Linked DNA regions of Homo sapiens: regions 2, 3, 4, 5, 6 and 7 are each linked to region 1. The links are contacts of gene promoters, found by promoter capture Hi-C in blood cells and fetal thymus (Javierre and others, 2016). All regions are on one chromosome and are shown on one strand. Each heading gives the region's core, a stretch centred on a gene start or on the middle of the fragment in contact. The rest is flanking DNA. Distances are from core to core; before and after follow the strand shown.

Region 1 (3,609 bases), core at 464-2,963:
TAGCTCAGCTGGATCAGGGTTTCCTCCACGGTTTGTCTGACAAATACTGCCAGCTTACTATGCTTACTATGTTCCAGGCTGCTGTGTTGGACTGGGGGAGGGTAGACGCCAAGGAGACAATCTGATCGCAACAGGCTGGTGAGTGGTGAGGCAGTTTCAACCTCCATTTGAGGAATACAGGATTCTATCATCACCTTCCAGGGAATGCAGTGAATGTTTAGAAAAATTACAGAAAGTTACATATTTGGTTATGAATACCAGCTACAATGCTATATCTAATATGAATTAAGTTTCTTTGTTTCCTTTTTTCTGTTTATGTTGCTACTTTTTTTTTTTTTTTTGAGACAGTCTCACTCTGTTGCCCAGGCTGGAGTGCAGTGGAGGGATCTTGGTTTGCTGCAACTTCCGCCTCCCAGGTTCAAGCGATTCTCCTGCCTTAGCCTCCTGAGGAACTGGGATTACAGGCACCTGCCACCACGCCCAGCTAATTTTTGTATTTTCAGTAAGACGGGGGTTTCACGATGTTGGCCAGGCTGGTCTCGAACTGCTTACCTAAAGTGATCTGCCCGCCTCGGCCTCCCAAAATGCTGGGATTACAGGCGTGAGCCCCAGCACCCCGCCTACGTTGCTACTTTTTAATGTGGGGTCATTTTTTAAACCTGGCTTTTTAATTGAAAAAGTAATACAAACATATGGAAAAATTCAAACTGTACTAAAAAAGGTAGACAATGAGAAGCAAATCTTTCTTCTATTTCAGACTCCTCCTTCCCCCATTCCACACCATATCCCCTCAACCCTCCTTCTATTCAGACGTTACCACTGGGTCAATCCGTTGAAAGTTACAGCTAAGGTGATACCTGGGGTCCAAAAGCTAAATATGGACCTACGCTATCACCAGTCCCTTCCAGTTCTAAAACTAAGTCCAAGCCTTTTGCAGCACGAAAGAGATAGCCTCCTCTCATCTAAAGTTATGGCTGGTAAGGCTGAGACGAATGGAAATGGATTTCAAAGACATAGATTTAGAACTCCTGAAAGGCAGGAGACAGAACTCAATACTTTCATGGTGAGTGGTTTATTTACTGATTAAATAAACGCTCCCTTAGGGATGTAAGCTCCACACCGGCAGGAGCTTCATCACCAGCTCTCACTGCAGACCCCGGCATTAAAGGAGCTCACACGGTAAAAGCCCCTACCGCCCACCACAGCCACAGCGGCCGGCAGCCCAAAGTGGGAAACCGCGCCGGCCGTCACGTGACTCCAGCTCCCCCCGGCAACCGGCCCGCCCCCACCGAGACCCCGCCAATCCGGAAGGGAGGTCCAATTTGGCCAGGCCAGGGCGTGTTCCACCGGCCCAGTAGCCTTGCTGCTGCGTTATCCCTAGACTCGCCCCACTTGCCTCGGAGTCTCAGGCCGTTGCCTAGGTCCTCCCGGTAAAACCCTGGAGACTGCTAGGGAGAGGAGCAAGGGAGGGGCCAGCGCGCAGAAGTGCGGACGCAACCCGGCGGCCGCGGGCGAGGCTTATGCAGAGCTTCAAGAAACAGCTAGGGAGACCGCAGGAGTCTCCAGAGCGCGCGCGCGGGCCCTCCCCGGCCCGACCCACGCGGCGCGGCGTGGTGACGCCCGCGCGGCCTGAGGAAGGGGCGGGGTCGGGGCGGGCCTCCGCGCTCCTCCCGCCCTCTCTGTGTCCCTACTCTCCCTCCCCTTCCCTCCCCCACACTCGGCCCCGTCAGCTTGGGGGTGCCTTCGTCGCGCAGCCTTGCGTCGGCCCGGCCCGGCCAGGCCAGCGGGCAGATGCCCCGAGCTGCCGCCGCCGCCGCCGCCGACTCGGCCGGTGGCGGTGTGGGAGGTGGGCGACCAGCCCGGGGCCGCTGAGTGTGACGGACGCAACTGGGGGCGCCGGGGGCTCCGCACGGACCATGTATTTTCTGAGCGGCTGGCCCAAGAGGCTGCTGTGCCCTCTGGGGAGCCCGGCCGAGGCGCCTTTCCACGTTCAGTCCGACCCGCAGAGGGCTTTCTTCGCCGTGCTGGCCGCGGCCCGCCTCAGCATCTGGTACAGCCGAGTAAGTAGAGCCGCCCGCCGCCTTTCGCCGCTGCCTCCCCGGCCTCCCGGCGCCGTCCCACCCCCAACTTCCACCCAGAGCCTAGGACTCCTGCCCCTTCGTGCCAGACCCACCTGCCTTCGCAGTCCGCGTCCTCGTTCCACCGAATTGGCCGCAGGTACCCGCCGGCTGCAGGCACGTCCTCCAGCCGGCGGTCCGGGGTGGATGAAGTCGCTGCTGCCGAAAATCCCTGAGCCTCCCCGCGTTGGACCGACGGCCGCGGCGTGCAGACTCCGCACGCTCCCCGGCCGAGCCCAGACTTGTTCTTCTCTCCCTTCCCCCATTCCCCGAGGGACAAATTTGTTTAAACTTTCCACAATTAGAAATCCGGCCGCTGTGGTGCCCCAACCCTCCCTTACTTTAAAGGTCGCCGTTTTGGAGTTAGGGAAAGCCTCTTGGGCTTTACCCAGCGCCAGACTTTACAGGCCTGTAATAACTTATTTCTACAAACTACAGCCTGAATTCTTTATTCTTCACTAAAGGTCTGGTTATTTAACTCCCCTCTTTAACCCCAACATCCCTTCCCCACTTTCGAGTTGGTCTTTTTCTTTGCTGCTGCTCTTGGACTCTTCGGAATAGGGGGTTAAAGGAGCGGAAGTAGAACTCAAATCTGTCCGCGGAACTCCCAGTTATAACACCTGGAAATAATAAGGCTTGGGAGGAGCATGGAACTGAATTCTGTTTTTGCTTTAAGTCCTGGTTATCTTTTTCTTTCTTGTATTGAATTACTGAGTAGATATGAGAAAGAAATAAGTGGTGGATGGGATACTCCCTACTCTCTGCAAACACTGCTATAACTTTGTCTATGAGAACGACAGAGTTCAGAGTATAAAAATGCTTTTTTTCCTCCCCAAAGAAGGCAGTACCAATCGATGTCAGAGTGAAGTTTTTCTCCTTTCCAAGTTAATTTGACCATGTGGGGATAGGTTGTGATCTTGTCCTTATTAGGTGTTCGTGAAATACTGGTTTTAGTTTGTTAAAATCCCCAAATCTTTGTGTGTTGCTGTTCCATTACCTGTAATGCCCTTGACAGTCCTCACCCACTTCCCTGGTAATACTGGTGATGGGATTTAGTGACGGGTAATTCTGGTGTCTCCTTTGACTGTCATAGTTGGGCTGTAAATCAGACTATTTGCCATCAAGTTTTGGCTGATCTAATTTTCAAATGCAAATCAGAACAAAACAAACTTATAAAATCGTAATACCAACAATATGACTATTTTGTCTAGTGCCTGATTGTATTTTGAATATATATGTATGTATGTGTGTGTGTATATATATAAACATATGTGTAAATATATATAAAGTATCATCTGGTTCCTAAATGAGATATTCGTTTACAATGTATATGCCAGTTGAATAATTTTTAATTTGTTTAGGTGTATATAACTCAACTTTAAAGCACATGCAGAAAAAAATAGAACTTGAATTTAAATTGTCTTTTGAATTTAATACATAATTCCTTTTGAATGTAACAAATTTAGACTTTCGTCTAAAATTTAACTTTTCT
Region 2 (3,249 bases), core at 750-3,249, 970 kb before region 1:
CAGACTTTGCTTTGTTTTGTTACACGGGGCTCTATTTCTCTTAAGCTCCTACAGACACTGACATTTTCCCCATCACCTCACTCCCTCACCTGTACCTCCCAACGCCAACATCCTCCCCTCTGCTCTCCTCACATTGGAAATTCCAACTCCCTCCCACGTCTCCACCAGGTGTCACAATCGCGCTCTCGCCGGCTCCTCTCCCCGCCCCTCCGGGATGGTAGTGCGGAAGCGGAAGAGGCTGCAGGGCCGGGAAGCCTCTGTTTGGTCCGGCCAGGTCCCGGGATCCGGGCCGCCAGCTGCGATGCCAAGTCCCCGGAGGAGCATGGAGGGACGGCCGCTGGGCGTCTCCGCTTCGAGCAGCAGCAGCAGCCCCGGCAGCCCAGCCCATGGCGGCGGTGGCGGCGGCAGCAGGTTTGAGTTCCAGTCCCTGCTCAGCAGCCGCGCCACGGCCGTGGACCCCACCTGCGCCCGGCTCCGTGCATCGGAGAGCCCAGTTCACCGCCGCGGCTCCTTCCCCCTGGCCGCGGCGGGCCCCTCGCAGTCGCCCGCGCCTCCGCTGCCCGAGGAGGACCGCATGGACTTGAACCCGTCCTTCCTGGGCATCGCCCTGCGCTCCCTGCTGGCCATCGACCTGTGGCTGTCCAAGAAGCTGGGGGTGTGCGCGGGAGAGAGCTCGTCGTGGGGCAGCGTGCGACCCCTTATGAAGCTGCTGGAGATCTCGGGACACGGCATCCCCTGGCTGCTGGGCACCCTCTACTGCCTGTGCAGGAGCGACAGCTGGGCCGGGCGCGAGGTGCTGATGAACCTGCTCTTCGCCCTGCTGTTGGACCTGCTGCTGGTGGCCTTGATCAAAGGGCTGGTCCGCAGGCGCCGCCCGGCCCACAACCAGATGGACATGTTTGTCACTCTCTCGGTGGACAAGTACTCCTTCCCCTCGGGCCATGCCACAAGGGCCGCCCTGATGTCGAGGTTCATCCTGAACCACCTGGTGCTGGCCATTCCACTGAGGGTGCTGGTGGTTCTGTGGGCCTTCGTCTTGGGCCTATCCAGGGTCATGCTGGGGCGGCACAATGTCACCGACGTAGCTTTTGGCTTTTTTCTGGGCTACATGCAGTACAGCATCGTGGACTATTGCTGGCTCTCACCCCATAATGCTCCGGTCCTCTTTTTACTGTGGAGTCAACGATGACACCATCTCATTGATTATGGCACCAGGAAGTCTGAAGGTTTCCACATTCGATGATGTCAACCTAAACCAGCAGCCATCCCGCTTGTCCCTCTTAGGCATTTCAGGCTTCCTTTGGGATTTCAGGTGTCCCATGATCTTGATGTGCTGCTAGGCTGGAGCACACACTGGCCATTACTGAACACAGCCATATTAGGGAAAGCAAAAAAACCCAAAAAATCCTCTATTGTATATTTATTCAACAACTGTTTATGTTTCCAGGACAACTGCAAAGAAAACAAGCTGAGGTGGTTATACTGTTGCTGTTAAAAGTTGGTATCAGTAAGATTTGTGTTTTGTGATAATCCCTAAATCAACATACCACTTGTAAACTGAACTTCGAGAAAGAAACATGATGTTCATTCTGTAAATATACATGCAGACAGGTCATGTACTAATCCTAGTCCTTTTCCTGAGGTAGATTTTAAACAGTATTTTTAAAGTCCAAGACATAGGTTTTTCTAGTTTATTCCCTGAAGATCTGTTGCCACAGTTGGGAGATTTCTTCTTAATCCTGATTTTCTTGGTAAGCTTTTTTACTTTATTATCTCTATAATTTATTATCTCTATCCATATTTGTGGATCGGGTAGTGGGAAAAGAGATTATAATACTTGTCTTTCTCTCCTCTCCCTCCATCCCTCAAAAGATCTTTATGCATTTCCCACTACTCCCTTACTGTCTTTTAGCATTCAGAGAAAAAGCCAACTTGCTTAAAGAGGAATCACTTAAAAGGTAGGCATATCTAAGATGCTCATAGAAGAGGAAGAATGGGACATGGCCCCATGCTTATTTTTGTTTACAACGTAACATGGCATGAGAGAGGGCAGAGAAACTAAGTTGCTGGGGAAAGTTAGAGGAACTGAAAGTTTGGGAATAGGCTGACCACATATTATGCCAGTGACCAGTATGACAGGAGATGGGGCCCTGCTGCCAGTCATCTCCACTGAATAAAGAATAATGCTCCTCTTTCAGGGTAATAAAGTGGGGAAAAGGAACGTCTTCTCAATGCAAGAACATAAGCTTTCTCGTATATACCTGTATGCTACAGTTTTTCACATGGAATTCCGTTTTCTGAGGTACAGCACATTTTAGGTAACAGTATTTAACTTGAAATTCATCATGGGAGTCTGCTGCTATACCAGGCACAAGATAAAACTCCAAAATTTCTGTTTACATTGACCTTTACATTTAAAGCTGTTCATCCATGGTGCCTCCCCAAATCATAAGACCAAAGACCACCAAACGCAGGGTGGACTCTGCTCATTATTCTTTGACCCAGAAAGACTGGAGAAGGTATGTGCTTTAAGTGCTGCTCTACCTGAAAAGAAATCCTTTAAATTACCTATGGAAGTGATGTCCTCAGATAATCTTAATGACTATTTTGGCATTTATAAATAGAAATGATTATGGACTTTGATCTGCCATACGGAGGTTCGGAACCTGGAGAACGGCTGTGATAAGTAGGTTTTGATTGAGTGAAAGCATGAGCTTGTTCAGAGTGAGGGGCATAGTGAAAAAGGAACAGCCATGCCTCAAAATCAAATCATTTGCATTCCCACAGCATCCTGAATACCGACTACCTCTTCACTTGCTAAAGCAGCTAAACTGTGAAGCTCTAAGTGGTTTGGGTTTGTTGTTTAACCTTAGCGAGATCCTTTAACTGCAGCAATATTCAAGCCAGATATTTGGAAGCAAATGATATTTCCTCTTGCAGTGTCCACAAATCTGAATATTAGGGGCATGAAATTAGGCTTACCATCTGATTTGTAATTACAATTTTGGAATTCTCTGTTTTAGTTGCTGAGGCCTGAGTTTTCTGGCTCTTAAAGCATAGATCATTTCACCTGATGTTTTTGAAGCATCCTAAGTACAGTAGAGTAGAAAACTGATTTCTTTGTTAATTGTACACTGAATAATGCCTTTTAAAAATCAAAATAAAATTAACAAATAATGGTGAATGAAGTGAGATGAAAACTTGCTTAATTTTTGCCTTGATGAGGAGGGAGACAGATTTATCACTTAG
Region 3 (3,609 bases), core at 422-2,921, 950 kb before region 1:
GGTGTGGTGGCGCATGCCTGTGATCCCAGCTACTCGGGAGGCTGAGGCAGGAGAATTGTTGGAGGCAAAGGTTACAGTGAGCCGAGATCACACCATTGCATTCCAGCCTGGGCAACAAGAGCGAAACTCTTGTCTCAAAAAAAAAAATTTTTTTTGCAAACTGATTATTAATTCTGAGTTCATGTGTTTATTACAAACCTACTTATTGGTCTTACTGGCTTTAAGACTTAAATTTTTGGATTGGAATATTTGGAAAAAATAAAATGTTTAATTGATTAACATTTTATAATCCTAAAAAAAGCTTTGGCTTAATTTTATCAAATAAGGGGGATCTAGACTTCTTAATGTAGTATGTGATATGTAGTTCTTAGATCCAATTAATGTAAAGGCAGATCATGTTTAATGTCCCTCTAAAACTTCTGTATGGTCATGGATTAGAATGTGACCTAATATTTTATTTAATATCTGAATACATGTTGGATAGTTTGCCCAAATGGCCAAATGTTGTCTGGGTAGTTTGTGGAGAAATAAGACATACATTATTTTTAGAATTTTTCGATTTGAGAAAAGAATATTTGCTCCCAAATAATTTGAAAATGCAAGATAATTTCTATTTATCCATATTACCATATTACTTTTCTTGATATATTATCCTTTCTCTTTTTTTTTTTTTTTTTTTGAGGCAGTGTCTTGCTGTGTTGCCCAGGCTGGAGTGCAATGGCACGATATTGGCTCACCACAGCCTCCGCCTCCCAGGCTCATGTGATTCTCCTGCCTCAGCCTCCTGAGTAGCTGGGATTACAGGTGCCCACCACTGTGCCCAGCTAATTTTTTTTTTTTTTTGAGATGGAGTCTCGCTGTGTCACCCAGGCTGGAGTGCAGTGGTGCAATCTCGGCTCACTGCAACCTCTGCCATTCTGGGTTCATGCCATTCTCCTGCCTTAGCCTCCCAAGTAGCTGGGACTACAGGCACCCGCCACCATGCCCGGCTAATTTTTTGTATTTTTAGTAGAGATGAGGTTTCACCACGTTAGCCAGGATGGTCTCGAGCTCCTCCTCGTGATCCGCCCGCCTCGGCCTCCTGAAGTGCTGGGATTACAGGTGTAAGCCACCACTCCCGGCCATGCCCAGCTAAGTTTTAAAATATTTTTAGTAGAAACGGGGTTTCGCCATGTTGGCCAAGCTGGTTTCGAACTCCTGACCTCAGGTAATCCGCCCGCCTCAGCCTCCCAAAGTGCTGGGATTACAGGCGTGAGCCACTGAGCCCAGCCAAAAGAAGTTTTATATACAAAAGTTCTTACATCTTTTCTTACAAAATAAGTTATATAGCTTAATTTTTCTCCTTTTCCTGGCTCTGTTTTAAGCATAGCTAGTCTACAGTTATTCTTGATCCTATTCTAAGATAACTATTCTTGATCCTATTCTAAGATAACAAAAAGTAAAAATAAATATTTTATTTTAAAATATTATATTTTATATTAAAATATTTTATATTAAAATATAATATATATATTAAATATATATTATATTTATATATAAAATATATTTTAAAATATATTTTAAAATATACTTTATATATTTTATATATATATTTTATTTTTATATATAAAATATATTTTATATATATTTTATAATATATGAATATATATTATAAAATATACTTAGGGACATGGTTTATAGTACCTTGGCTCCAAACCTGCTGAATGAGTAAATAAAACATCTGAATAGCAAGTGTCCACATTTGTCCCAGTACAAACGTGAGTTTGCCTGAAGACTCAGCTAAGAGGTAGGGTCCTTGGTTACTACTTGCCTCAGAATTGTTTACCACCACCAGTCAGTAAACAAATAAGCATGATATTGTATGACAAACACCACAACAGAAATATGCATAACTTGGGTCGGGAGACACTGGGTCAGAAAAAGTTTAGGGCATGCCAGAATCTGGATGAAGATAGGAGTTTCTGTAGGAGTTACCTCGAAGAAAGAGGATTGCCAAATTGAAGTGAGGGACAAGGGTGGGAAAGGGAAGAATAAGCAAACAAGTAGAAGAGCAATGGGAACTGAGTCTAAAGAGGTAATGGGAAATAACATCACGAAGGGCTTTGCCACAGAGTATGTACTTTATCCCAAAGCTAAGAATGAAAAAAAAGATCAGATTCATTTTTTGGAAAGATCACTCCAGTCTAGTGGAGTGGAGAACGGCTTGGGATAAGAGTCTGCATTTGTATAATTCACATGTGAAATTATAAGGGCTTGAATAGTGATGCAGATATGGGAACAGATTGGAGAGAAATTATTCTGAAGTTGATGTACATTTGACGAAGAACTCATAAAGAATGTGCCTTCAGCTTTTGTTTTATAGAGCCAAGGAATATAGGGTATTGAATGTCTATCACAGTACTTTACATGTAGTAATTAAGTAAATAAAAGTAATTACTACTGCTTCGGAGTAGTACGGTCAGCAGGGTAGACCATTGTCACTTTTAAGAAATGTAACTTTGTGGCCAGGCGCAGTGGCTCATGCCTGTAATCCCAGCACTTTGGGAGGCCAAGGTGTGTAGATCACGAGGTCAAGAGATCAAGACCATCTTGGCCAACATGGTGAAACCCTGTCTCTACTAAAAATACAAAAATTAGCTGGGCATGGTGGCACATGCCTGTAGTCCCAGGTACTTGGGAGGCTGAGGCAGGAAAATCACGTAAACCCCAGAGGCAGAGGTTGCAGTGAACTGAGATCGCACCTTTGCACTCTAGCCTGGTGACAGAGCAAGACTCCATCACAAAATATATATATATATAATTTGCCTATTTTGATTAGGAATAAATTAAAGGATATCTGTCTGATATAATCAGTTATAAATGGAAATATCCAATAAGAACTTCTCAAATCACCAAGGATTGGAAAAATACAGATAGAAAATAGAAACCAAGAAACGATTACTTCTAGATAAAAGGAGGTTTTTTTGTAGTGAAGAATTTGGAGAACAAAATTATAAAGGCCTGGTTGTCAGCATGTTGAGTATTGAGGTGATGAACTAGATTTAAGCTTTGTTCTCATTATTCTGCTTGTTCAGGATTATGAAGACTATTAATTAAACGTTTGTTAAGCACTAGCTTTATGCAAGACACTGTGATAGTTGCCAGGCTTTTTGTTGCTGTTAGTTGTCAGGGGATAGGCCTAAATTAACAAAGAAGTTTAGAAGTTAGTTGATGAAACAAGGACTAAGATATAAAAACATGACTGCAGACCTAGAACACAGGATATACTATATACCAAAATATTGTACAGAAATCCTTTGAATTAAGAAAAATTGAACTGTGCTGCACAAACATCCATTGCTTTCTTCATTTCTTACAAATATTGTTTTTATCCAGATGTATAGCCATGGAATTGAATTGGCTTGCCAAAAGCAGAAAGAGTTTGTGAAGAGCTCTGTGGCGTGCAAATGGAATCTTGCTGAAGCTCAACAGAAACTTGGTAGCTTAGCACTGCATAATTCTGAGTCCTTGGATCAGGAGCATGCCAAAGCACAAACAGCAGTATCAGAACTGAGGCAACGGGAAGAAGAGTGGCGACAGAAAGAAGAAGCTCTAGTACAAAGAGAGAAG
Region 4 (3,609 bases), core at 622-3,121, 880 kb before region 1:
CCTCTCTTTGAGTTTATCTGATGTTCTCTCATGATTCTATTCAGCTTATTCATCTTTGGTAGATAATATTACAGAAGTAGTGCTGTGATTTTGTTATGTTCTATCAGATGGCATATGATTTTAATGTGTTGCATTATTGATGATGCTAACTTTGATCACCCAGTTAAGGTGGTGTCTGCAGGATCTCTCCACTATGAAATTACTCTTTTTCCATTTGTAATTAACAAGTATTCTAGGCCCGGCACGGTGGCTCACGCCTATAATCCCAGCACTTTGGGAGGCTGAGGAGGGAGGATTGCTTGAGCTCAGGAGTTTAAGACCAGCTGGGCAACAATTCAAAAAAAATTAGCTGGGCATGGTGGCCCAGCCTATATTCTTAGCCTCTCAGGGAGTGGGTTGAGTGGGGTGCTGAGGTGGGAAGATCACTTGAGCCCAGGAGGTGGAGGCTGCAGGGAGCTATGATCGTACCACTGCACTAGAGCCTGGGCAACGGTGTGAGACCCTGTCTTTAAAAAAAAAAAAAGTATTCTGTAAGAGGGTAGTTGAAGTTCAGACTTTGTAAATACCTTATCTTTCATCAAACTTTTAATTTACTCACTATCTTACATTTATTTATATGGTTTCTTATTTTATTAAATTGGTTGTAAGCCATTGTCATTATTATTTATTTTGATGTTCAAATCATTTAAGATTTGGCTAATGGAATCTCCTTCGTGTTAGCTAGCATCTGTGTCCTTTTGGCATGTCCCCATTACTCTTTGTGCACTTCTTTACTTTCTGGCATAAGAAGGTCCAGGTTCATCTTGGACTTCCTAGACCCAGCAACACATTGAAATGGCTGAGATCAACCATTTCTCCAAGAATCCCTGGTTTCCTTTAGTGGAATATGGAATTTAGAAACTGAGGCCCGTGCATTCAGTGTGCTCATTACTATTAATGTGTTGCTGCTTTAAGGCCCTCTCAGAGGACAGGGCTAAGGAATATGTAAATATGTTTGTATTCATTTACACACACGTTTACATCTACATTTATTTCTATGTTTATCTATGTATTACTGAAGCCATGAGTTTACATTGATACCTTCATTTCTGATCTAATATTCTAGGATTTATTTTCATTTTTTCCCTTCCATCCTTCACTACAATCCTAGTCTTGTCTTCTCCTCATATATTGAAGCCACCAATTTTTATTTTATTTTATTTTATTTTTTAGAGACAGAGTCTTACTCTGTCACCCAGGCTGGAGAGCAGTGGCATGATCATACCTCACTGCAGCCTCAACCTCCTGGGCTCAATTGATCCTACTGCTTCAGCCTCCCAAGTAGCTGGAACTACAGGCACATGCCATCACTCCCCACTAATTTTTATTTATTTATTTATTTTTAATTTTTTTTAGTAGAGACAAGATCTTGCTATGTTGGCCAGGTTGGTCTCAAATACCTGGGCTCCAGGGATCCTCCCACCTCAGCCTCTAAAATATTGGGATTACAGGTGTGAACCACTACATTCAGTCTTCTTTTATTCTTATCTACCTAACACAGAGTAACACATTGCTTCTGGATTTTGAGTTAGTGTCTCTAACAGACTCTCATGTCCTTCATGTATCCACATTTATGATCAGTCACTCTGTGTATACCCAACCTTCTATCACCACTGCCTACCCTTTCTCCATGCAGATGTCCTCCTCACCCCACTTGGGTTACAGAATTCCATGCCGACAATTCATCAGCCCGATATATGGACGCTGTTATCTGGCTGGGGCTCTGACACTCTATGCTGGACCAGACCACGCCCTCCAAAGACATCCTTCTCACCACTTCTGGGCTCTGACATCACAGGCCAGGCTGCTTATGACTATGAGCATTCTACTCACTCTGTGCAGACTCCAAAACCCTGAGCCACACTGTACTGCCGTCTACATGGAGAAATCTTCCTCACTCCACTCAGACTCTGGCACTTGTGCTGGGCAGCTCTCCTCTGCAGATGCCCTCTTCTTGCATATAGTTTAAATGTAGACCCAACGTGAGTCCCTGGTGGATTCGATGGATTAAAGTGAGGGAAAAAAAGAGATTTCTCCTGAGCTACTGGGAGAATAGAATTGTCATTAGCTGAGATTGGGAAGACTATAAGAGAAACAGGTTGGGTGAAAATATTAGAGTTGTTTTGGAATAAGTTAACTTCGAGATACCTGTTGGACATCCAGGCAGAGAAAATAAGGAAGGAGGCAGATGTATAAATTTTGACCACAGGGTAGAGGTCCAGGCTGGAGACATAAATTTGAGAGTTGTCAATATGTTTAAATTTTTGAGATGGTACAAGCTCACTAGGGAGCAACTTTAGATAGAGAGGAGAGGTCTGAAATCTGAGTTCTGAGGTTGTCTAACATTTTGAGGTTGGAAGATATGGAAGAAACATTGAAAAAACCTGAAAGAGAGGGAGAGGCCAATTAAGAAGAAAATTGGGTGAGTATGGTGTCGTGGAAGTCAATTGAAGAATGTGTTTCAAGAAGAATATGATGAAATGAGTCAAATTCTGCTGATAGGTAGGACTGAGAACTGATTGAAAATTATTTCTAGGCTGGGCACAGTGGCTCACGCCTGTAACCCCAGTACTTTGGGAGGCCGAAGTGGGCAGATCAGAAGGTCAGGAGTTTGAGACCAGCCTGGCCAGCATGGTGAAACCCTGTCTCCACTAAAAATACAAAAAATTAGCCAGGCATGGTGGCGCCTGCCTGTAGTCCCAGCTACTCAGGAGGCTGGGGCAGGAGAATCGCTTGAACCTGGCAGGTGGAGGTTGCAGTGAGCTGAGATCGTGCCACTCTACTCCAACCTGGGTGACAGAATGAGACTGTCTCAAAAAAAAAAAAAAAAAAAGGAAAAAGAGAAAAAAGAAAATTACTTCTAGTTGTCAAAAAAAACCCCTTATGAAATAAATTACATTTCATTTACAATTTATAGATTTAAAAAATGAGGATAATTTTGCCCCAAATTCCATAACTATTCAGCAGCTAAATTAGTGATTTCAAATTGTACTGGATGCATATAGGAAATGCTTTCTCTGAGGAGAAACTTCTGGGAGTAGAATTCAAATTATCCAGACAAGGATATTAGAGAAAAAAGAAAGATAAGGTCTAGACAAAAGTCAAGGAACAGAACAGAGAAGGTGGAACTCAGATACTACAATGTCATATTGTTTAACACTTTGCAAAAGAAACAGAAGAGGGCGCCTTAGAGCTAAGACAATTTTATTAGGACGTTCACTTGGAAAGATAAATAAGAATATCTGAGAAAGCCCTAAGAAAGACGGACAATGAGGAAGCCTGTACCATAAGAAAATAATATTGACACATATTTTAGTTTATTCTATGTCCTCCTCACCCCACTTGGGTTACAGAATTCCATACCGACCACTCATCAGCCTGATATATGGACACTCTTATCTGGCTGGGGCTCTGATACTCTATGCTGGACCAGACCACCCCCTCCACAGACATCCTTCTCACCACTTCTGGGCTCTGACATCACAGGCCAGGCTGCTTATCGCTATGAGCATTCTACTCACTCTGTGCAGACTCCAAAACCCTGAGCCACACTGTACTGCCGTCTACATG
Region 5 (3,609 bases), core at 620-3,119, 810 kb before region 1:
TTTTGATAGGGATTGCATTGAATCTGTAGATAAAGATGGAATGTGTTTCCATTTTTTTTGTGTGTGTCCTAAAGTTTTCCTTTTAGAGAGCTTTCACTTCCTTGGTTAAATTTATTTCTAGGTATTTTATGGTTTTTTTTAGTTCTTGTAAATGCGATTGCTTATTGATTTCTTTTTCTGCTAATTCATTGTTAGTATGTAAAAATGTTACTGATTTTTGTGTATTGATTTTATATCTTAGAACTACTGAATTTGTTTATCAGTTCTAGGAGTTCATGGCAGTACTTTAAGAGTTTTCTATATATAAGATCATGTTGTCTGCAAACGGGAACAGCTTAACTTCCTCCTTCCCGATTTGGATGCCCTTTATTTCTGTGTCTTGCCTAATTGCTTTGGCTAGGATAGGACTTCCAGTACTATGTTCAGTAGGAGTGGTGATAGTAGGCATCCTTGAGTTGTTCCAGATCTTAGAGGAAAAGCTTTAAAATTTCCCCCATTTGATCTAATTAAACTAAAGAGCTTCTGCACAGCAAAAGAAACTACCATCAGAGTGAACAGGCAACCTACAGAATGGGAGAAAATTTTTGCAATCTACCCATCTGACAAAGGGCTAATATCCAGAATCTACAAAGAACTTAAACAAATTTACAAGAAAAAAATCAAACAACCCCATCAAAAAGTGGGCAAAGGATATGAACAGACACTTCTCAAAAGAAGATATTTATGCAGCCAACAGACACATGAAAAAATGTTCATCATCACTGGCCATCAGAGAAATGCAAATCAAAACCACAGTGAGATACCATCTCACACCAGTTAGAATGGCGATCCTTAAAAAGTCAGGAAACAACAGGTGCTGAAGAGGATGTGAAGAAATAGGAACACTTTTACACTGTTGGTGGGAGTGTAAACTAGTTCAGCCATTGTGGAAGACAGTGTGGCGATTCCTCAAGGATCTAGAACTAGAAATACCATTTGACCCAGCCATCCCATTACTGGGTATATACCCAAAGGATTATAAATCATGCTGCTACAAAGACACACGCACACGTATGTTTATTGCGGCACTATTCACAATAGGAAAGACTTGGAACCAACCCAAATGTCCATCAGTGATAGACCGGATTAAGAAAATGTGGCACATATACACCATGGAATACTGTGCAGCCATAAAAAATGATGAGTTCAGGTCCTTTGTAGGGACATGGATAAAACTGGAAACCATCATTCTGAGCAAACTGTCGCAAGGACAGAAAACCAAACACTGCATGTTCTCACTCATAGGTGGGAATTGAACAATGAGAACACTTGGACACAGAGTGGGGAACTTCACACACCGGGGCCTGTCATGGGGTGGGGGGAATGACGAGTTAATGGGTGCAGCACACCAGCATGGCACACTTATACATATATAACCAGCACGTTGTGCACATGTACCCTAGAACTTAAAGTATAATTTAAAAAAATACAATAAAATAAAATTTCCCCCATTCAGTATGTTAGCTGTGAGTTTGTCATATACAGCCTTTATTGTGTTGAGGTGTGTTCTTTCTATACCTAACGTAAGAGTTTTTATCATGAGGGGGTTTTGAAATTTAAAAAAATTTTTTTTAGAGATAGGGTCTGACTTTGTTGCCCACGCTGAAGTGCAGTGATACAAGCATAGTTTACTGCAACCTTGAACTCCTGGGCTCAAGCAATCTTTCCGGCCTGGTCTCCCTACAGGTGTTTGCCACCATGCCCGGCTTTTGTATTTTTTGTAGAGATGGCGGTCTCGCTTTGTTGCCCAGGCTGGTCGCCAACTCCTGGGCATGATCATCCTCCTGCCTTGGCTTCCCAAAGTGTTGGGATTCTAGGCATGAGCCACAGTACTTAGCCTCCTGTCCTTATAAAAATTGTTTTCTGGTTGATTCGTGTCTCCTTTTTTTCTTCCCGTCTTATTGTTTGTCATTGCAGTTTGATGGTTTTCTATAGTGATAAGGTTTGATTTTTTTCTCTTTGTCCTTTGTGTATTTGTTCTACCAGTGAGTTTTATACTTTCATGTTTTTTCATGGTAGTGATTATCATTTTTTCATTTCTAGATGTAGGACCTTCTTGAGCATTTCTTGTAAGGCCTGGCTAATAGTAATGAATTTCCTCAGTTTTTGCTTGTCTGGGAAAGACTTCATTTCTGAAGGATAGCTTTTTTGGGTATAGTGTTTTTGGTTGACGTTTTTTTTTTCTTTCAGCATTTTGAATATATCATCTTATTCTCTCATGGTCTATAAGGTTTCTCTGGAGAAATCTGTTTTTAGTGTAATGGGGATTTCCTTGTATTAACTTGATGCCTTTTTCTCTTGCTGTTTTTAGAATTCTCTTTTTATCTTTCACTTTTGACAGTTTAACTATTAATATGCCTTGGGAAGACCCTTTTGGGTTGAATCTATTTTGGAACCTTTGAGCTTCCTAGATCTGTATGTTCATACCTCTTATCAGCCTTGGGAGCTTTTCACCTATTTCATTTGGCAGGCTTTCTGTGCTTCCTTTTTTCTCCTCCTGGAACTTTCATAACATGAACATTTGTTTGCTTAATGATTTCCTGTAAGTCTTGTAGGTGTTCTCATTTCATTTTCATTCTCATTTCTTATTTCTTTGAGTAGGTAATTTTGAAAGACTTATCTTCAAGTTCAGAGATTTGTGTCTTATGCTTGATCATGTCTGCTATTTTAGTTCTATTATATTTATTTCATTCATTGAAGTCTTAAGCTGCAGTATTTTTCTTTTCTTTTTTTTTTTTGCAACTGCAAATTTTAAAATTTATCCAGGAAGCATCAGATCTGGCCCAGTGGGGTGGGGTAGGGGTAGGTGGAGTGGCTCCATCTTCATTTGGCACCATGCTGAAAGGTACAGTAGCCGCTTAAAGCTCGGCTTGAGGATGTTGGGCCACTGGTCTAGGGTGTATCCTCACGGGAAAAGGGGAGTTTTTGCTGCTTGCTCCTGGAGCAAGACACACTCCAGCCATAGTTCTAATTCCAGGATAGTGTAGCGCAGGCCACAGGGAGCTGGGCACGGTGTTGACTCCTTCTCTGTGGGGAGCACAGCTACGTATGTATACTCCAGGCAGCTTAGGCCTATGAGGACTGCAGGGTTCCTCAGTGGTGAGGTCTGTAAGTGTCTAAGGTATTGATAGGGATCGCTAGGATCCTCTTCCTTACCTCCTTGCAGCAGGGAGAAGTCCTTTTGGTTCCCAGCTGATCCTGATTGGGGATTGGGGTGATAGAAGCTTGGCATTTCCTTCTGCTCTCTCTGTGGTCATCTCGAGTTTCTTTTATAAACTCTTCTGATGCACTCTGGCACCCTTCCTCAGTTATTTGTGTTAAAGTCTAGTTGTTTAATTGTTGTTTTGGCCGTCTTTGTGAAGGATTTCTAGCTGGCCATCTTGATCTGAGCACCTTTTCTTTGATGTATTGGTCAGTTGGATATCCTCTTTTATGAAGTCTCCATTCAGATATTTTGCTCATTTTTCTGTCTTTTTCTTATTTAATTGTTGATTCATTGGTATATTCTGGATATGTTAAAGGATTGCACATATGTTATTCCACTCTGACTTGTCTTTTGACACTTTCAGT
Region 6 (3,609 bases), core at 786-3,285, 790 kb before region 1:
TTTGCTCTTTCCTCATTTCAGGTTTGTCCTTTGAGTCAAGTTAAATATTTATTGAGCATTTCTGAGTACAAAAGTGGTGTATTGGAGAGTTGGGAGGGATTACAGAGGTAAAGCCCTTGCCCTTATAGAGTGTGTGGTCTCATTGAAGAGCAAGAACAAAATGTGCATATGTGAAGAGAGATGTATGGTAAGTTCAAGTGGAGCTAACACTTGGGTGCCGGCTGGAGGGTTTCAGGAGAGAGATTGGGACCTCGGGCTGGGAGAATGGGGCAAAGCAGCTCAGGTTGAGGAATTTGGTCAGTTTGGATGGGTGGAAGGAGTTGATGGTGCAGAGCTGAAGATGGACACAACTGAGCAGGCTGGGGGCTCTAACAACAAGATATGGGAGGACCAGGAGCCACCGAGAGACTGTCACCAGCATGAGGAAGATTGGTCTTTTAGTATGAAGTTCAGGATGGGTCAAAAAAGGGAGCTAGATACCAGATCAGGTCATGTATCGTCTCTGAGCACTTTGTTTCTGCAGTTCAGATGAAAATTAAATATGTTATTGTCAGCAGTTCTTGAACATTGGGCTGGATTGGGCAGATTATATACCTCGTTCTACCTGTTGGACTTGTCACGTGGGGTTTGTATCAGGGTAGTGGGAAGGTCACATGTTATTTCTCCATTTTTTTAGTTCCAAATATATAGCCATCTCTTGACCATACATTGCACATTGAAGTGCTCAATACATACTTACTTTTTCTTTGACATGTGTGGTTGGGGAATGCCAGCTTCTGTTATAAAGTCTAGTTTTAGGCAATAATTTCCATTTCCTCAAGCACCAATCTTTTCACTTGAGTTACTAATATCTTCCTCCTTTCTTTTCTGGGGTGCCCTATTGTAGGAGTGCTAATTATCAATATTTTAACCATAAGGTAGCAGGTGTGAGGAGGCTGTGTTATCCACAAGTGGAGTAATTAATTCTTAAATAGTAGAAAATAGGCCCTGTAAATGAGAAAAACCTTTTTATATATTTATAAATAGCAGCAACCATGTTCTTTCACTGAACTTTTTCTGCTTCTCCCATCAGCATACCAGGAGTCAGATTGGGATCGCCCAGGTCCTGTGTGGTGTCTGTTCTGGGCTTAGGTTCTTAAGAGAGAGACTCATTGGCTACAGCAGTGGGAATGGACAGAGAATAGAAAGTGTTCTTAGGTGTTGTGCTTCAGAGGGAGCCTGGATCATGACCCGCAGAGAGGCAGGTGTCTTTACACCTTCCAAAATTGACTTGAACCATTTCTAGGGGAAGCGTGTGGGTAGGAAGTCAGGGGGTGGGGTTGAGGACCTCCAGCTTTATACTTTCCACTGTCTCTATTGTTTGGGTGTTTTTGCCATGACCTTTTATAATAATGAAAAAAATTTAATTATGGTACTAATTCAGTAAATTCAGTTGGAAAACAATAGATTTGGAAGTCCCAGTTTGTTACTACAGTTCCACAAATACTTGCCAGCTTTATAACTGATTTTTCTCTGTCCTGGAATTCAAGCAGAATGACATCCTTAACTCCAGGCTGCAGGTACTCTGTACGTGTGTCACCTCAGATGGCGAACCGGATTGTGGATTCTGCAAGGAGCATCCTCAACAAGTTCATACCTGATATCTATATTTACACAGATCACATGAAAGGAGTCAACTCTGGGAAGTAAGTATCTGTGTTTTTGAAGTCTGTTTCTGCAGCTTTTTCACATGCCTGTTCTAGTTGAAGTTAAAACTGCCAGCTCTGAGGTTGCGCAGCCAGAGGAAGAACAATTTCAGAATTAATTTCTTTCTGCCTTATTGCCGTTGTCACCAACAGGCATTTCTTGAGTGCCTGTCACATGGAAAGCATCCCAGTGGCTAGAGCTGGAAGCTAAGGGTCTGGTTCCTAGCCTTGGGGAATTAAAACCTTTATCTATTAATACACAATGCTTTAGGCTTTAAATTCCATCTGCACTCTGTTCCAACAAAAAAATTAAAGTGGACAGGTTCTTCCACCCTGAGTAAATAACAGTATAGGGTTAAAATCTTTTGTTATCTAAGTGTAAGTCAGCATCTCTCTTCATCAGTGGAAACAACATATTTACATCCAGAGAAAGTTGTTATTGCAGACGTGAATTTGGTTTAGTGAAAGCCTTTGCTTTGCTAAAAAATAAAAATTTTAAAAATTAGAAAAAAATTCTAAGTAAGGAAAATAAGTTCTTAAAAAATGATGCTCTATGTAATGAAGATACCTGTTTTAGGCTTTGCTTGTGTATTTAGCAACTAGGAAGTTAGAGAAGCAATTAAAGCCACTTTCTTAAAATAGGAAAGTGTTAAACATACAGAAAAGATCAAAGAATAGTACAGTGAACACGGAGATATACTCCTGCTGCCTATAGTTAACGATAAATATTTTGCCAAATTTGCTTCACTTGTTTGTGGGTTTTGTTTGTTTTTGTTTTTTACTGAATCATTTCAGTGTGAATGGGCATCATTTCACTTCACATCTGAGGCTTTGCAGGTTGTGTCTCCTAAAAATAAGAATATTAGAGTCTGGGGTTAACTGTTGTAGGTTAAGAAGTCAACTTCTTCTTAAGTGATGCCACAGCTGATCCTTTTTCACAGCTGTTTCACCTGTGGTTTCTTTTAATTTCAGCAAAAAGAGGAAAAGAGAGTAAAGGAGGGGGGTGAGTGTTTTATACAACCTTTGACCTTTATAAGGCCCAATGGAAAGATGAAGGTAGTTTTAGAAATACAGTGGAGGCTCATAGTCCAAAGCAACAAAGCTGGTGGCGTCATAACGCTGGGGTTGGGAAAGGATTTGTGGGCAAAGCTGGACTTTCTGGCTTGGAAAAGTCAATGATGTTCCTAAACCTTTGGTTTATATTCTAGTAACAACAGTATTTTCCTCATTTATGCATTGAGGGTGATGATGCCTATGTTTTGGGGTTATTGTAAAGATCACACATATAAGCCATTAATACCTTGCTTGTCACATGGTAAGTCCTACAGAAATGGTAGCTCCTGATGCTGTTCTTTCCTTTACTCTCCCTTGTTGGCCACAGGTCTGGAATTATGTGTCAGCTATTTTCTGGAGAAAGGGGATTTCCGAGGGATGGGGGAGGACAGATAGCAGCAGAAGCTGTCTAAATGGCTTCATCTCGATAGTCCCTTCTCTGCTTTGCCTCTCGCTTTATCAGAAAGTGTCCTGGCATGAAGCAGAGCAGGCCTGACAGCCATCCTGCCACCAGCTTATAGTGTGGCTTTTTGTTATACCACTGACTCAGCTGACCCTAGAGTGTGGTCAAGTCCATACTTACTAATGGTGAGTAGAAGCCTTACACGTAGATAAAGACATGGACATGATGTAGACTGTGGGCCATCAACTCCAAGCCCCATTTTAAAAATTACATGTAAAACCAATGTGGGATTTAAATTTGTGTTTGGTTTTTTTAAATCTCCAGTTACAGATGACTAATAGTGCTCTTCCTTCTCTGTTATTAAAATTATAAAGTCATGGATGGGTATTTCTCTCTTCTGATTCAGTGAAGTATCCAGTAAGTCAGGCTTGTTCAGATGTAAGAGTTTATGTTGTGGCCATGGCCTAG
Region 7 (3,609 bases), core at 669-3,168, 700 kb before region 1:
CACCCCTCCATTCCTCAACCCAGGTATCTTGAAGAGCCACTGTTCCTTGGAAGAGGGGTGTATATTTTATGCCTCTTGAAATGGATGATAATTGTCTCCTAGGGGAAGAAGAAAAAGGGCACTTGCCATTTGAAAAGTGATTATCTGAAGAGTCTCTCTGGAAGTTCAGCTTGAAAGGACTCACTTTCTCTGTTTGTTTAACTGTATGTTCACTAGGTATTAAGGGAAGTGCTAGGAAAAACTTATAGAGGAAACACTTGTCAGAAACCAACAGGCCATTACTCTACTTCCCTTATGCCAAATCTAAGTCAGAGTGCACCTGTGACTTGCCCTGGACACTGAGAGGTCACATCCACACGGGACTAGTCCTTACTATTCCACAGATACATGACGAAGCCTGTGCAAGATCTGATAGTCTACACAGAGATGCTTTATAAATTTCCCAGGAAAGGGTAACTCATTGAGTCATCAAATATTTGCACAATCTGAATCTTCCAGAGGTCAAGGAATAATTGTAAATGGTATTTGGACTGATGGCTCTGTAGTTCAGAAGGTGCTTGATTGTGCATGTGTGTGTGTATAGATTTGAGAGGAGCATAGCTCTCTATCCTCATCTACTTTCAATTTATGCTTGTACTTCTCAACTTTATTACTGTTTGATATTGGGGGAAAGAATGGTTTTGACATCAGCGGCAAAGTTGTCAAGATCTTGGATGATTTATTCCTGAATTATCTGGCACAAAGTCTCACTGAAAGGTTCATAGTTATATTTTATGTACTGAAATCAAGACATGGAAATAACTTTAGCTTACAAAATGGATATTTCTGGATCTATACTTGGACCTATAGAAATATGTGAAATCAGACAAAAGCAGAAGTGATGGTAAGATTATATTCAGTAATTCAACTAGCCGATGATAATATCTGGGACTTTGGGAGAAGGCCGTGATGAATGTTTTATGAAGCTGAAGAAATGTGGGTAATAAAAATGTAGTTGGCTATGAAGACCTTCCTAATAAAAAAAGGTTGTTAAGTCTTAGAATCACTTCTTAAGTGCTGACGGAATTTTCTGTTTTAAGACAATAGATAGCTGGCCAGTGGCTTAGGGCTTTACTACTCAAGGTGTAGTCCAAAGATCAGCAACATTAGTGTCACCTGGGAGCTTGTTAGAACTGCCTGGACACCACCACAGAGCTACCAATCGGAATCTGCGTTTTAACAAGATGCCCAAGTTATTTGTATGCATGCTAAAGTTCGAGAAGCAAACAGGCTTGGAGTACTGTTCTCAAACTTGACTGCATATTAGATAAACTGGGGAACATTAAAATATTGATGCCTGGCTGGGCGTGGTGCTTCACACCTGTAATCCCAGCACTTTGGGAGGCCGAGGCGGGTGGATCACGAAGTCGGGAGTTCAAGACCAGCCTGACCAACATGGTGAAACCCTGTCTCTACCTAAAATAACAAAAATTAGCCAGGTGTGGTGGCATGTTCCCATAGTCCCAGCTACTTGGGAGGCTGAGGCAGGAGAATTGCTTGAATCTGGGAGGCGGAGGTTGCAGTGAGCCAAGACCATGCCATTGCACTCCAGCCTAGGTGATAGAGTGAGACTCCGTCTCAAAAAAAAAAAAAAAAAAAAATTGATGCCCACCTCCAGAGATTCTGATTGAGTGGGTTCAAGATGTGGTCCTCATGTTGGGATTTTTTGAAGCTCTTCAGATAATTCTAGTGTGCAGCACTTTCCATTGCCTTAGAACTGGCTGGAAGGTTTGGCTTACAGAAGCCCTGAGCTCAGACATCCTGACAGTCGTGTTTTATTATTATTATTATTATTTTCAATAGTGGTAAAATACACATACAAAATTATATCTCTCTTTTTTTTTTTTTTTTTTGAGACAGAGTCTTGCTCTGTTGCCCAGGCTGGAGTACAGTGGCGCGATCTTGGCTCACTGCAAGCTCTGCCTCCCAGGTTCATGCCATTCTCCTGCCTCAGCCTCCCGAGTAGCTGGGACTACAGGTGCACACCACCATGCCCGGCTAGTTTTTTGTATTTTTAGTAGAGACAGGGTTTCACCATGTTAGCCAGGATGGTCTCAATCTCCTGACCTCATGATCCACCTGCTTCGGCCTCCCAAAGTACTGGGATTACAGGCGTGAGCCACCACGCCCAGCCACATAATTATATCTTAATTGTGGTGAAACAAATATAACATAGAAGTTACCATTATAATCATTTTTAAATGTACCATTCAGTGGCATTAGTTACATTCACAATGTTGTGTAAATATCACGACTATTTCCAGAATTCTTTCCATCATTCCAAAAAGAAATTCCACACTCATTAAGTAGTTGCTACCTATTCCCCCCAATCCCAATCTATGACAACCATTAGTCTGCTTTCTGTCTTTATGTGTTTACCTATTCTGGATGTTCCATATAAATGGAATAATAAAATATGTGAACATTTGTGTCTGGCTTCTTTCACTTAGCATAACGTTGTCAAGGTTAAGCCACATTGTGGCATACCTCAGAATTTCATTCCTTTTTACCACTGAAGAATATTGCATTGTATAGGTATAACACATTTTGTTTATCCTTTCATCTGTCATCTGTCGATGGACATTTGGATTGTTTTTACCTTTTAGCTATTGTGAATAATGCTGCATTGAACATTGGTGTAAAACTATCTGTTTGCTTCTCTGCTTTCAGTTCCTTTGGGCATGTACCCGGGAGTGGAATTGTGGAATCAGATGGTAATTTTATGTTTAACTTTTTGAGGAACCATCAAATTGTTTTCCATGGTGGCTGCACCATTTTACATTTCCAGCAGCAATGCATGAAGGTTCTCATTACATGGGCATATATTGCCATACTAATAAAACACTTCCATGGTGACACATTGATGGTAGATTCTCTGAAGAACTAGGTTATGTTGCTACAGTAGTTTCTGCTCTGGGTAGGGCATAGCACCAGCTGCATCACTACCATCCATGCAAGGAATTGGGAGAAATGAGAATAGGGGAGAGACAAGAAGAGCAGTGCTGCGTCTCTCTTACTGAGGGGTTCCAATTAGAGATCCCCTAGAAGTTAGAGTCCCAAATGAATGGATTACTCTCTTTTCCCCAGGCCACTTTCCCTCTTTCCTAATACCTAGGTATCCGGAACTTCCACAGGGCTGAGGTTGCATGCGAATTTCTTCAAGGTTAGTAACTGCCTCACCTGGTTGGCATCCAGCAGCCCATGGTGCAGGTACAGGATAGTTGTTTGGAGTTTTGTTCGCAAGGAGACTAATTTAAATTACTGCAAGTAAGGAGGAGGGTATTTTAAGGATACAAGGGAGGTTATATCCCTAACCATGTGAGAAAAAGCAAAACAATTGAGCTTTGGGGAGACAGGAGCCAGACAGTGGTTCTGTCTTCTGGGAGGCTCTGGAGACCTCTCTCATGAGTGAATGGAGCTTTTCTTTGGTTTTCCATCATTAATGGATCCTAGGTACTGTTTGCATGTTTGCTTTTTCTGTCTTGCAGATGTATTCTTTCTCTCTTTGATTATTTTCTTTCCTCTGTTTCAACTTGTGCTGCTTCAAATTCAGTTTGCACAAGGCTCTTC

Evidence for each region. The method cuts DNA at HindIII sites, captures the fragments that hold promoters and counts their contacts. A CHiCAGO score of 5 or more calls a contact.
Region 2: a fragment that was not itself captured here is called in contact with the fragment with the promoter of RIC1 in region 1 in 5 of 17 cell types (neutrophils, non-activated CD4 T cells, total CD8 T cells and 2 more); the score reaches 9.7 in neutrophils.
Region 3: a contact is called between a fragment that was not itself captured here and the fragment with the promoter of RIC1 in region 1, in 4 of 17 cell types (neutrophils, erythroblasts, monocytes and 1 more). The highest score is 14.8, in neutrophils.
Region 4: a fragment that was not itself captured here is called in contact with the fragment with the promoter of RIC1 in region 1 in 14 of 17 cell types (neutrophils, monocytes, fetal thymus and 11 more); the score reaches 24.3 in neutrophils.
Region 5: a fragment that was not itself captured here is called in contact with the fragment with the promoter of RIC1 in region 1 in 1 of 17 cell types (neutrophils); the score reaches 5.5 in neutrophils.
Region 6: a fragment that was not itself captured here is called in contact with the fragment with the promoter of RIC1 in region 1 in 1 of 17 cell types (neutrophils); the score reaches 5.8 in neutrophils.
Region 7: a fragment that was not itself captured here is called in contact with the fragment with the promoter of RIC1 in region 1 in 1 of 17 cell types (monocytes); the score reaches 7.1 in monocytes.

The regions. Positions count from the first base shown.
Region 1 is chr9:5,627,394-5,631,002 of GRCh38, forward strand. It overlaps RIC1 (RIC1 partner of RAB6A GEF complex), which reads left to right and starts at 1,714. Exons shown (of 26, transcript NM_020829.4): 1 at 1,714-2,060. The coding sequence starts at 1,917. It overlaps INCR1 (interferon stimulated noncoding RNA 1), which reads right to left and starts at 2,334. Exons shown (of 3, transcript XR_007061406.1): 1 at 2,174-2,334. RefSeq lists enhancers at 1-123, 2,034-2,534 and a silencer at 1,474-2,013. The HindIII fragment of the contact is 4,913 bases long and covers 1-3,609 here.
Region 2 is chr9:4,662,075-4,665,323 of GRCh38, forward strand. All of the region lies in intron 1 of SPATA6L (spermatogenesis associated 6 like), which reads right to left. It overlaps PLPP6 (phospholipid phosphatase 6), which reads left to right and starts at 220. Exons shown (of 1, transcript NM_203453.5): 1 at 220-3,184. The coding sequence starts at 302. The coding sequence ends at 1,189. RefSeq lists a silencer at 355-614. The HindIII fragment of the contact is 490 bases long and covers 1,755-2,244 here.
Region 3 is chr9:4,681,502-4,685,110 of GRCh38, forward strand. It overlaps CDC37L1 (cell division cycle 37 like 1, HSP90 cochaperone), which reads left to right. Exons shown (of 7, transcript NM_017913.4): 2 at 3,376-3,609. Among named protein-coding and RNA genes, the nearest start is that of CDC37L1, 3.7 kb to the left of the region's middle. The HindIII fragment of the contact is 2,745 bases long and covers 300-3,044 here.
Region 4 is chr9:4,747,004-4,750,612 of GRCh38, forward strand. No RefSeq gene overlaps it. Among named protein-coding and RNA genes, the nearest start is that of AK3, 7.6 kb to the left of the region's middle. The HindIII fragment of the contact is 4,823 bases long and covers 1-3,609 here.
Region 5 is chr9:4,812,689-4,816,297 of GRCh38, forward strand. All of the region lies in intron 1 of RCL1 (RNA terminal phosphate cyclase like 1), which reads left to right. Among named protein-coding and RNA genes, the nearest start is that of RCL1, 22 kb to the left of the region's middle. RefSeq lists an enhancer at 2,893-3,042. The HindIII fragment of the contact is 2,784 bases long and covers 478-3,261 here.
Region 6 is chr9:4,839,673-4,843,281 of GRCh38, forward strand. It overlaps RCL1 (RNA terminal phosphate cyclase like 1), which reads left to right. Exons shown (of 9, transcript NM_005772.5): 6 at 1,560-1,685. Among named protein-coding and RNA genes, the nearest start is that of MIR101-2, 8.8 kb to the right of the region's middle. RefSeq lists a silencer at 2,637-2,931. The HindIII fragment of the contact is 7,127 bases long and covers 1-3,609 here.
Region 7 is chr9:4,929,675-4,933,283 of GRCh38, forward strand. No RefSeq gene overlaps it. Among named protein-coding and RNA genes, the nearest start is that of JAK2, 54 kb to the right of the region's middle. The HindIII fragment of the contact is 9,721 bases long and covers 1-3,609 here.